Regions from separate parts of the Homo sapiens genome. Here region 2 is linked to region 1. Evidence: promoter capture Hi-C in 16 types of primary human blood cells and fetal thymus (Javierre and others, 2016). All regions are on one chromosome and are shown on one strand. Each heading gives the region's core, a stretch centred on a gene start or on the middle of the fragment in contact. The rest is flanking DNA. Distances are from core to core; before and after follow the strand shown.

Evidence for each region. The method cuts DNA at HindIII sites, captures the fragments that hold promoters and counts their contacts. A CHiCAGO score of 5 or more calls a contact.
Region 2: a contact is called between a fragment that was not itself captured here and the fragment with the promoter of PHGR1 in region 1, in 4 of 17 cell types (total B cells, naive B cells, naive CD8 T cells and 1 more). The highest score is 8.1, in total B cells.

What each region holds. Positions count from the first base shown.
Region 1 is chr15:40,348,505-40,354,263 of GRCh38, reverse strand. It overlaps PHGR1 (proline, histidine and glycine rich 1), which reads right to left and starts at 3,231. Exons shown (of 4, transcript NM_001145643.2): 1 at 3,202-3,231; 2 at 997-1,032. The coding sequence starts at 1,006. The HindIII fragment of the contact is 24,416 bases long and covers 1,511-5,759 here.
Region 2 is chr15:39,785,060-39,790,818 of GRCh38, reverse strand. It overlaps LOC105370941 (a long non-coding RNA gene), which reads right to left. Exons shown (of 1, transcript NR_135665.1): 1 at 5,202-5,759. Among named protein-coding and RNA genes, the nearest start is that of FSIP1, 5.1 kb to the right of the region's middle. The HindIII fragment of the contact is 472 bases long and covers 1,730-2,201 here.

The DNA.
Region 1 (5,759 bases), core at 1,982-4,481:
ACTAAGGATTTTGTGCCCACACCCCTAACCCAACAGGGCCTCTCAGACATGGTCACTTGCCTGACAATCATTCCTTCATTCATTCTCTCAGCAAAGATACATATTGGAAGTCAATATAAGGTTCAGCAGTGTGTCCCTGTGTGCTCAAGGGCTGGCTGAGTCCTCCTGGGTGGAGTGGCGCCAGTTAGGAGGTATGGGTTCTTGTCTCAACTCTGTCAGCCTGGAGGTGCTCCATGGTGGCCAACCCTGTCATCCACCTGATTCTTGCTTCTACCTCCAGGCCAGCAGCCCTGCCAACCTCCCCATCTGTCCTCTGCCCCTGTCACGCCCCACGTATCTCGGCCCAATCTCTGCTCAGCCTCTCAGAGCTGTTTGTTGTCTCCTGTTTATGACCTTCTGTTCTCAGCTCTTGGCCTTTGCTCATGCCTCCTCCCACTTGGAAATCTCCCTGGAGCAGCTGCGTGTTGCCCTCATGCAGGAAATCCACATGGGAGCCATCCAGGCTGCCCAGCTGTGGGTCCACTGGGCTCCTGCAGCACCCACCTGAGTGGTCCTGCATGTTCTGAAGTGCCCCATTGGTGTGGGAATCACCTGCTACTTCTTAAAGGCTAGGACGGTCTTTTGTTCATTTCGAGGGAAGCCGATGGCACAGCTCCCAAGAACTGGATTCTGGATTCCGACCCAGCTGCACCTCTATGGCCTTTCCCTGAGCATAACCCCTAGCTCCCCTGGGCCTTGAGTGTGCGGTGGGAGAAGCACCTACCCTTAGAAGCACCTAAGAACATGATGAGTAAGCATGCTTTTTAAACTGTAACATGTTCTACAGTATGTAAGGGCTTGTCTTCATTGTGGACCCCTACCACTGCCTTCATACAAACACACACGCACGTACATTTTTGGCACGCACTAGTTATGGCTGACTGATAGTCCCTGCCTTTACCGCTCTCCTGCTCTCTCCCTTCTTCCAATTCCCAGCCTCTCAGCCACAGTGCTTACCTGGGTCCATCTTTTTGGAGTAAGAGCAGGGAATACCTGTGTTCAAAAGGTAACTTTTAATTTACTGTAATCTAAATTGCAGTCTTTCCTTTCTCCCTCCCACGGATGCGCGCGCGCGCGCACACACACACACACACACACACACACACACACACACCCTTCAAAGGAAGAAAGGGAAAAAACTGCTCCCTCCGGCTTAGCTTGGCCCCAATATAGAGCTGGCACTGTAGGTGCCAGGCATGGGGGTTAAATGGACACAGCGGGTTCACCTACATGGTGGGTAGATGGAGACACAACAGCACCATGTACCAGCCCCTACACCCCATACTCTTACACTTGCCCCCCTAGACTCAACAATTGTGTGTTAATCCGATTCCTCTTGGGAAGATTTCAATATCCGTTCATTTGCTAATTATTCATGTTGTGTGTCTGCCCTGTGCCAGGTCATGGTATGCTTGTCCCTACAGACTCTTGTCTTGTGTAAACATCTGGCATGGCATGGGAGCAGGAAGCTTGGAGCTATCAGTGTGCCCAGTGCAGGGACGGGAAGGATGGTTTGCTAGGACAGGAATGGGGTTGGTGGCCCCTGAGGGCACAAGTGAATGGATTTTTGCCCTGGGGCTCAAGTGAATGGAAAGCCTTCCATGGGGTCCTAGCTGCTTGTACCTGTCTCCTCCCACCAGGATTGGAAGGGGGTGGGAGCTTGGAGTCTGAGCCAACTTGTCATTCACCAACAAGCCGTGCTGTCATGAGATGGAGCTGCTGAGGTAACGTGGTGCCAAGGCTGGCCATGTCTTGCTTGGGGCTGGCAAGTCACAATGGACAACCCCAGAATGGGCCCAGTGAACATACAGTACATTCATTTTTTTTCAACCCTCAAATGGGAGTGTAGTATGTGACGTCAGGAGCAAATACTTGACATCAGGGCTTTCTGGTACTTACAAGTTTGCTGAGCATACAAAAACAAACAGCGCCCCCAATACAACAACCCTAGCCTCTTGCAAGACACAGCCCCCTGAACCTCTTTTTTTTCTAGGGAGCCTTAGTGCCTCTTTAAAAGTTTTTTTGAGACAGTCTCACTTTGTCATACAGGCTGGAGTGCAGTGGCGTGATCACAGCTCACTGAAGCCTCGACCTCCAGGGTTCAAGCAATCCTCCCACCTTAACCTCTGGAGTAGCTGGGACTATAGGTATGTGCCACCACACCCAGCTAATTAAAAAAATTTTTTTTGGCTGGGCACAGCGGCTCATGCCTGTAATCCCAGCACTTTGGGAGGCCTAGATGGGTGGATCATTTGAGGTCAGGAGTTCGAGACCAGCCTGTCCAATATGGTGAAACCCCGTCTCTACTAAAAATACAAAAATTAGCTGGGCATGGTGGCGGGAACCTGTAGTCCCAGCTACTTGGGAGGCTGAGACAGAAGAATCGCTTGAACCCGGGAGGCAGAGGCTGCAGTGAGCCGAGATTGCAGCACTGCACTCCAGCCTGGGTGACAGAGTAAGACTCTGTCTCAAAAAAAAAAATTGTTTTGTAGAGACAAGGTCTCACTATGTAGCCTAGGCTCAAGTGATCCTCTCACCTTAGCCTCCCAAAGTGCTGGATTTCAGGCATGAGCCACTGCACCCGGCCCCCTGCACCTCTTGAGCTACCCATTTTCACTGGCCTCTACTTGTACTCAAAGTGTTCAGCTGAGGTCAGCCTGTGAACTATACCCATGGTCCTTCGTGCTCCCTCGTCCTTTCCCTTAGTGAGTGATAAAGCTGGAAGAGACCTATGGGGCTGGGCTTTGCGGGGAGGAGAGGTAAAGAAAACCTCAGGGCCAGTCAGGATCGGGTAAGACGAAAGAGAAAAGACAATCCTCAGAATGTATCTCCCCAGTTCAGGCCCAGGTGTTTGAGGGACAGGAGTTGGCAGCTCTGGAAGGGACCTCATGCAATTTCTTCCACTCTCAGCTAAGCCCTGCTGCCTGGCATGGCAAAGGCTATAAATCATAACTGAAGAAGACAGTGGAAGTGTAGGGGCCCAGCCCAGGAGTGGGGACAGTGCAAATGGACAGACACACACCCTCATGCAGAGACACGGAAGCACGGATACCAATTCAATGCATATACACACCCAGAGAGACCCTGACCACATGCACACACAACATACCCCACAGAGACCCTACTGTCCCCAGCCAACAGCAAGTAGAGCCAGGTCCCTACCTGAGAGTGCAGAGCAGGGGCAGGAAGTCTGGGGCACTGTCTGTCCTCAGGTGTATTTGTACAGGTCAGGGAGGGGCTGGGATTGAACAGGTGCACTGGGAGGGCCAGATGCAGAAGGCTCGAGGGAATGAAGAGGGATGGGCTAATCCTTATCTGGGCAAAGGACAGTTGAAAGCAGGATGTGTGTGTGTGTGTGTGTGTGTGTGTGTGTGTGTGTGTGATGGGGAGGCTGGGGAACAAGCCGTTACCAGATTGGTGTGGTAACGAGATGCCACAGAATCCAGGCAGAAGTCCCCAACACTGGCAAGGCTGTTTACACCAGGGACTGGCTCTGAACATTTGTAGAGTTCCTACTGAATGCCAGGCCAGGCATGCGGTGCTTCACACACATTAGTAACCCAATGAGTCCCACAAGATAGATAGGATGATTACCTCCTTTCAGCAGGTGGAGGAATAAATAGTGACCATAGTGGAGGACCTGGTGGAATATTTGCCCTGGGCGCCAAGCCCCAGGCCTGAATTGTCAGATGTGCTGCCCAGCCCAGGGAGCTAGCCTGAGAATGGAAATTAGACACAGAAAAGGGAACTTTTGGGATGGATCTAGGCAGGCGGGGAGGGAGCCCAGCCTGCCAGCTTGCTCTGCACTCCGAAAGCCCCTTGTGGTCCGGTCCCCACTGACCCCTGTGGCCTCTGATGCCTGCCACAACCTCTTGCTTGGCGTGCTCTAGCCATGGTGGCCTTCCTTAGTCCCCTGCAGACAGAGCCAGTGCCCTTGCTCAGCTCTCCTGTCTCCCTGGATCCTTGCTCCTGATGTCTCTTGATCCCAGTGGGGACTCTGTGCTCCTCAGAGGCAGGGGCTGTTGTGGCTTCCTTCCTTCCCTCCTTCCCTCCTCCTCCTCCTCCTCCTCTCTCTCTTTCTCTCTTTCTTTTCTTTCTGAGACGGAGTCTCTCTGTGTCACCCAGGCTGGAGTGCAGTCGCACGATGTCAGCTCACTGCAACCTCTGCATCCTGGGTTCAAGTGATTCTCCTGCCTCAGCCATCCGAGGAGCTGGAATTACAGGCGCCCGCCACCACTCCTGGCTAACTTTTGTATTTTTAGTAGAGACAGGGTTTCACCATGTTAGCCAAGCTAGTCTCAAACTCCTAACCTCAGGTGATCCACCCACCTCGACCTCCCAAAGTGTTGGGATTACAGGCATGAGCCACCACACCCGGCCTGTGGTGGCTTTCTTAGTCACCTTTATATCCCCTCAATTAGAGCAGTAACGTAACCACCATCAGGATACAATTTGGAAAATGGAGAGGAGGAAAAGAGTGATCCTCCTTTATCTCCACGGTGGGCAGGAAAGTGTTTGTGTGCCAGTTTCTCTTACAGTATCAGTTATCTCATATCAGCTCTTGGAGGTAATGGTTATGATCTTCCCCTCTTTTATAGATTAAAACATTGCCAGCGTTCAGAGACATTAAGAAATCTGCTTGAGGTCGCCCACCAAGTGTGTAGTTAGTCCCAACTGGGGACTATTTGAGTCTAGAGCCCGGGCCCTTTCTTCACCTTAGGTAATCTCTCCTTTTAGGAATGCTCTTCTGAAAAATTCCAGCCTGCTTTGCTAACATTGTTGGTCAAAGGACTTTGGTTTATGACTAGGTGGGAGGCTATTGGTCCCTTCTGCACACATTTGCTGTGGGTCTATGGGGAACCAGGACAGGGCGGCCTACTGGGGAGGGGCAGAAGTCCCAGGGGAGGTTTACAAAGGTATGGTGCCTGCCAGGCTCCGGCCCAAACTGTGTGAATGTTACCAACTGCATCCACTGCTCACTGTGCTCACCGCCCTCACCAGCCCTCTAAGCCCTACTCTGCTTCCTTTTACCCTTCAGGGATCTTGACACCGCAACCTCTCCACCTCTGTCCCCAGCCTTTGGCAGGAAGCTGAAAGAGAGGCCTGTGTCTTCACAAAGCCCCAGGAGGAAAGCAGGGGCTGAGAGGAATGCATGGGGGCCCAGTGCTCTGGGTTCCAGGCTTGAGGCCTAAGTTCTCCATCTCGGGAATCAAGGTCTGAGCTCCAGTGGGTGCCAATCACAGAACCCACTACAGCAGCAGTCAGGCAGAGTAGTGAGGCCTTGGGTGGTGGCAGTAGGCCCTGCCTTGATGGGGTGGACTGAGAAGACAGGGCAGCCTCTGAACCCCGAGTGGGCCCAGAGGCCTGTGAGAAGTGAGGAGGGCACCCACGGTGTGGTGGCACATGGGAGACGATCTATAGCAGGGTGTATGTGTTCATGGACTCTTCTCCTACCCAGTCTTAAGATTTTGAGGGCAAGCAGGGCCTGCTCCATGTGTGTGGCCCCACCACCCCTCAGCAGGCACTGTGCCTTACAGATGATAACTGCTCACCACGTGCTTGGGCATATTGCCTGGCTGAGTGTGGCGGCACTTCCCTGCTAGAAAGCCACAGAATGGAGAAGGGAGCTCTGTGGAGCAGGAGGAGATACTTCTGGGGTGAGGGGCTGGGATCTGGAAGAGGAGACGGGAGATCAGGGAGGGAGGCTGAAGGGCATCTCC
Region 2 (5,759 bases), core at 716-3,215, 560 kb after region 1:
GCTCTGTCGCCCAGGCTGGAGTGTAGTGGCGCAATCTCCGCTCACTGCAACCTCCGCCTCCCGGGTTCACGCCATTCTCCTGCCTCAGCCTCCTGAGTAGCTGGGACTACAGGCGCCCACCACCACGCCCGCTAATTTTTTGTATTTTTTAGTAGAGACGGGGTTTCACCGTGTTAGCCAGGATGGTCTAGATCTCCTGACCTCGTGATCCGCCCGCCTCTGCCTCCCAAAGTGCTGGGATTACAGGCGTGAGCCACCGTGCCCGGCCCTCGCTAGAGGATTTAACTCAGAAAAAATGACCAATGAATGATAGAAAATTGAATGCATGGATGCAAGTGTCCACCCGAATGCAAAATTCTCACAAATTTGGGTCCAGGTAATGATCTCTAGATTCATTTAAAAAATTGTTGGCAATTTTCACCAAAATACCATCATCTGTAGCAAGCTATACAAGATAGATGAGCATTTAATGCACACCAGATATGAATTGAACCTGATAATTCATCTGCTTTTCTTTCATTCTCCAGCATGGATTGGATGGTTGCTGTTATTTGACATGAAAATACTCATTTTATTAACAAGTGCAATGAAAAATTCAGTATAGTGTCTCAAGAACATATTAATTTCTCTATTTCAACAAAATAAGGAACAGTGCTAGAGAGTTATCTTCCCATTGTTTGACAGATAGGCTGGTAAACTGAAGTCTGCAGAGGTGAAGAGGCTTGCCGTTCCATAACAGAGGTGGGATACATATGCAACTCTCATAAAACCTAAACAAATTCTGTTCTATTGCATCGTTCTATAAAAATAGGGCACTTCTCTTGTGGTTTTGCTTGCTTAATTCTTTGTTCGACAATTGCAGGGACAAGACAGATGGTTGTTACCATTACCCAGATGTTTCTAAACAAGTAATTCTTGCTGCCATGCACGTTGAGCAGATGCCTTTTACATTGTTATGAATGTTGGGTTGAGAAGCAGGTCATTTCCAAAGAGAGCAGAGACTGCTTAAATCAGAAAATCACAGGGTCTCAGAGCTGGAAGTAGTGGTAGAAACCTTTATCTACCTCTTATTTACTAGACAAAGAAACTGAGGTGGAAAGAGGTTAAGAGACTAGGCCCAGGCCACACTGTTCTTGGCAAAGACAGGACAGAAAATCCAGAGATGTGTATTTTAAAATGTGTGTCAGTGATGAATTACAAAAATATAAAACATCACAAATTTTGAACAAAATTAAAGCACTAATTTTAGTTTGCCTATTATGGCAAAATAAGGGGAAAATAAGCCAGCTTCTATTAAGAAAGGAGTTTGGATGATCAAATTTTAAAAATGTAAACAAGAAAACCAAGTCTTCAAAATGATGACTAGTTCCTAGTGTAATAAACACTGTATGTTCAGATAGAAACATTACTTTGGATTCCAGCTAAGAAAAAGATTGTGTAAGAAATAAAGTGAGAAGCTAAGAATGCCAGGATGAGACTTAAACATTGTGGCAGCCTGACCCATGACTGATGAACAAACCCCTGGGGTGGTTTACTTCTTATTTCTTTATGTCTGAGATGTTAACTCTGAGAAAAATCATTTCCTTACCTTGCTGCTTAACACCCTAAATATTTGATTTGAATGTTTCTAATATGGCATCTTAATTATTTTAGCTTCCTTTATTTTTTGTTAAAATATGTACAAAGGTTTACATAATAATGAAGGCTTACATAACTATATACTAAAGCTTCATTTTAGTATTGTAGGAAAACGGCCTGTTGCATAGCAAGATGACCAATGTGTTCCTGTAGCATAGATAAACTCTCATAGAGATGCTTATCTAACCACCCCAGGGGTCATGAGTTTTGCAAGAAGGCCTGAGGCATGACTGGCTGCACATCTTTCCCTAAAATCTTGCTATATAAAAGATGCTTTCTGGAGGGCAGTTGCGGGGATCCACTGTCTCTCTGGCCGCCAGAGACATGGCTTCTGTTTGTAAGCCCTTATTGAATGTTTCTTTCTGAGAAACTGGACTTGTCAGCTTCTTTCATTGGCCTCTCAGCTTCCTTGGCCTTTGGGGGTAGGTTTGCATAGACCTGCTTACCTCAACCAAGTACACAGATCAGGAGATCCAATTTAAAACAACAAACTAACAAACCCCTATGGGATCAGAGAGACCAAGCTCAATACTGAAGTTAGGTTTTGGACTCAGAGACAAGCTTACCTGTAGGTTGAAAGCATGAAGCATGAAACCCAATGCATGGGCAATGTTCAGAATCTGTTGGTTTCAGCCCAGGATTGATAGTTGCAGTGCAATTTCAGCCATTATGCGCAAGCAGTGTCACATCCATTCAGCTGACAGGGGCGAGACACTAATCTCAGTGGGCATCCAGCAACTGAAACTGCAGCTGGCCTTGGGAAGTTTCTGCCAACTCTTTAAATCTTTACAGGTACAGAGTTGCTGCGGGTGACCAAACTTTGTAGCCAGTAAGATCATGAGAAAGTTAAGCAGTCTGTTACTTTGAGGGAATTTCCTTAGAAAAGAAGAGAAACCGATTTTTTTCTCCTTTCTGGTGAGAATGACTCACTTGGCAGAGCTGATTGCTTTAGGGCCCACTTGACATGACACCTTCCCCCTGCAAATGACTCTGGATATTATAACATACCTTCGTTTTCATTGATTTACTTTACTATCTTTAAAAACAACCCTCTAGGCCAGAAACATGTAGCTGCACTGCTATGTGTGTGTGTGTGTGTGTATGTGTGCACTGATTTTTACACAATTTCACAATGTCCTGGAAGTTTGTGGCCCCCTAGGTTGACATTCGGATCGCTCGAGCCAGTTGAATAGTTATATGACAATACATGATCTAACTTCTTTAACTGAAAACAAACCTAAAGTCATCACTGTTTTTGGACCAATAGGCATTGAGAAGTTGTAAGCTTGATCTTTTAAAAAATGGAGACATCCACTGACCAGCAGCTAATTCTGTGCAGCACTCCACAGCAGACAGGGAGAGGAGGGAAAGAGTTCTACAGGGAGAGCATTTTTCAGTCTCTAGCCTGCTGTTTACAAAGGAAGTGCTGGATGTCACTGTTCACAGCCTCCGTGTAGAACAGCTGCAGGGGGCTCCATGGTGCCTCCAGGAGCAATGTCCTCACCACTATTTACCCTCTAAAACATTAACTTGAAGTCAGTGGTTCATCTGTACCACAAGCACCAAGGGACTTGTTAAAAATGCAGATTCCTGGTCTGCATTCCAGACCCACTGAATCATGTAATAGGGACTAGAATCAATATTTTAAATAACACCTGAACTGATCCTTCTCAACAACAAAATCTGACAACCCATTTGAATCGGGTTTATTTCACAGCTTTTAAGTTCTAAAAAATGTACTAAAATAAGGTACTAAGCACATATGAAACATATACTTAACATGTATTTTACTTTCAATAATAATAGCATTAAGCCTGGGCAACATAGGGAGACCTCACCTCTACAAAAAAAAAAAAAAAAATTCAACCGGGCATGGTGTTGCATGCCTGTAGTCCCAGCTACTCATGAGGCTGAGGTGGGAGGTTGCTTGAACCTGGGAAGTTGAGGCTGCAGTGAGCCATGATCATTGTGCTACTGCACTCCAGCCTGGGTGAAAGAGCATGACTTTATCTCAAAAAAAAAAAAAAAAAAGAAAAAGAAAAAAGTGTTACCTGTTCCAGAATCTGATTGTTGTTTTTTTCAGGCTTTATTTACTTCCCTGTTCATGACCCTTGCTGGCATGGATGGCATTGTGGCCAAGCAGGATTGGGAGATGCTGGAGGGAGTACAGTTGGTATAAAAGGGGTACATGGAATAAAACATGTATTTCTTCTTAAGTCTACTGATTTAATGTAAATACAGATGTATGAGAATTTTCAGAGTCTCAAAGTCACCATGGTTTTTTGATATTATTTATAGGTACTAACATTTTAAAAAATGCAGTTTTTTTGAGATCAAATTTTCACTTTTCCTATTTGGGTGGCTATTTAAAGATGCATCCAGGCACAATTCAGACATACAAGATACTTCAGTTCAGTGGTTTCTTGAATTACACCTAAAATCCAAAGGAACGTGTTTCTGAAAGTGGCTGCCAATTTTTTTTTTTAAGAGGACAATCAGCACCATCTAGTGGACACAAATATCTCCTCTTCTAGAATTCGGACCCCTGAGGAGATGGAGGGCAGGCTTTGGAACCTAGGTTGGAATCCCGGTGCCAGTTAGTTCCCCAACGACCTTGGGACAATTACTTACCCTTTAGGTGCTCTGCTTCTCAACTCTAAATCCAGGTAATACTAGTGCCGACTCATAGAATGTTATGAATGAAGTGAAATGATGCTTGGAAGGCAAGTCTGAAACACTTTGTAAATGCAGTTTTTCAATAACACTAAGCATAGATTCACAGGACATGGGAACTATCCAGTGGTAAACACTATTATCTGCTCTCCAGTAGGAATGGCTATTATACACAAAATCCAGTGTGTAGAATCTACGATATGAGGCTTAATGAGATCCCTCTCCTACCATATTGTTACATTCGGTTGAAGTTTATGGTGAGGAAAGGGCAACCGGGGCAACAAGGCTGAAATGGTAGTTGGTGCCCAGATGGCAAACAATGCTCTTGCTCGCTTTCATTCATTCAAATCTGACTCCACTCGGAAGGAGGATGTCAAGAGTAGGGAGAGACTGCAAACAAAAACAAAAGCTAACTCCGAAACTAACACTGCCACTGCCATATGTCACCAACCTGGAATGAGACCAGGGAAATTTTAGCTTCAAATATCTTGACTCTAGAAGAAATTTTTATGAATGACTTTGAAGGGCACAACACTTTCCAGGATGTGTTTGCGATTTTTGAAAATGGAACTGCAGAAAACACAGTATAGACATTTGGTGCTCTCGGACTTATATCCCCGTGCTGTTTTGAGGGTGTCACCTGCAATAGCTGACACAGAAGTATCTGGGGAAATTAAAAACAAATACACAACAAATGCAATTTATTAAAGCTGGCCCTTAAGGCACACACAGCCTCTCGGCAGTTTACAAAATGGAAGCAGCAGGAGGTAAATAAACACGTGAGAGTGACACAGAGACAAAACAATTCAAAATGAGATAAATAGTTTTATGCAAATATAGTCAATAGGGACTTAGTCTGGAAAGGTTACAAACAGTGAAGAGACACAAAGTTTACGTGGAACCCGAATTTTATTTTCACTTGCTTTATATGCATCTTATGTTGCATTTTAAAAACAACAGTTAAAAAAATGAAAACAGCAGTAATCATAGGTCCGCTTTTTCTTAGTTCAGCCCCTTCCCCCCCCGAGAAATTGGGAAGGTATTGTTTTCTTAGTGGACACTATTAGTCACCAAATTAAAAACTGGAAAGAATGGCCTTCGTTTATGGTGTATGAGAACCGTGCAGGCACTTGGCAATGATCTCGTCTTGCCGCTAGGTAAACAGCGGTCGGTGGACGGGGAGCATTGGCATCATCTAGGAGCCTGTTAGTCTCAGGTCTCACCTGATACTGAATCAACATTTTTTTTTTTGAATCAGCATTTTTAACAAGATTCCTCGGTGATTTGTCTGCACATTAAAGTTGAGAAGGCCTAGATTCATTTGATCTCAGGTACACCCCTGGTTGTGTAGTTTATGAAGTCTCCCCAGGTGATTCTAATGCTCTGTGCAGTTAAGCACTGCAAAACTAGTCCAACTTCATTTTTCAAATGAAGAAACTGTGGCCCAC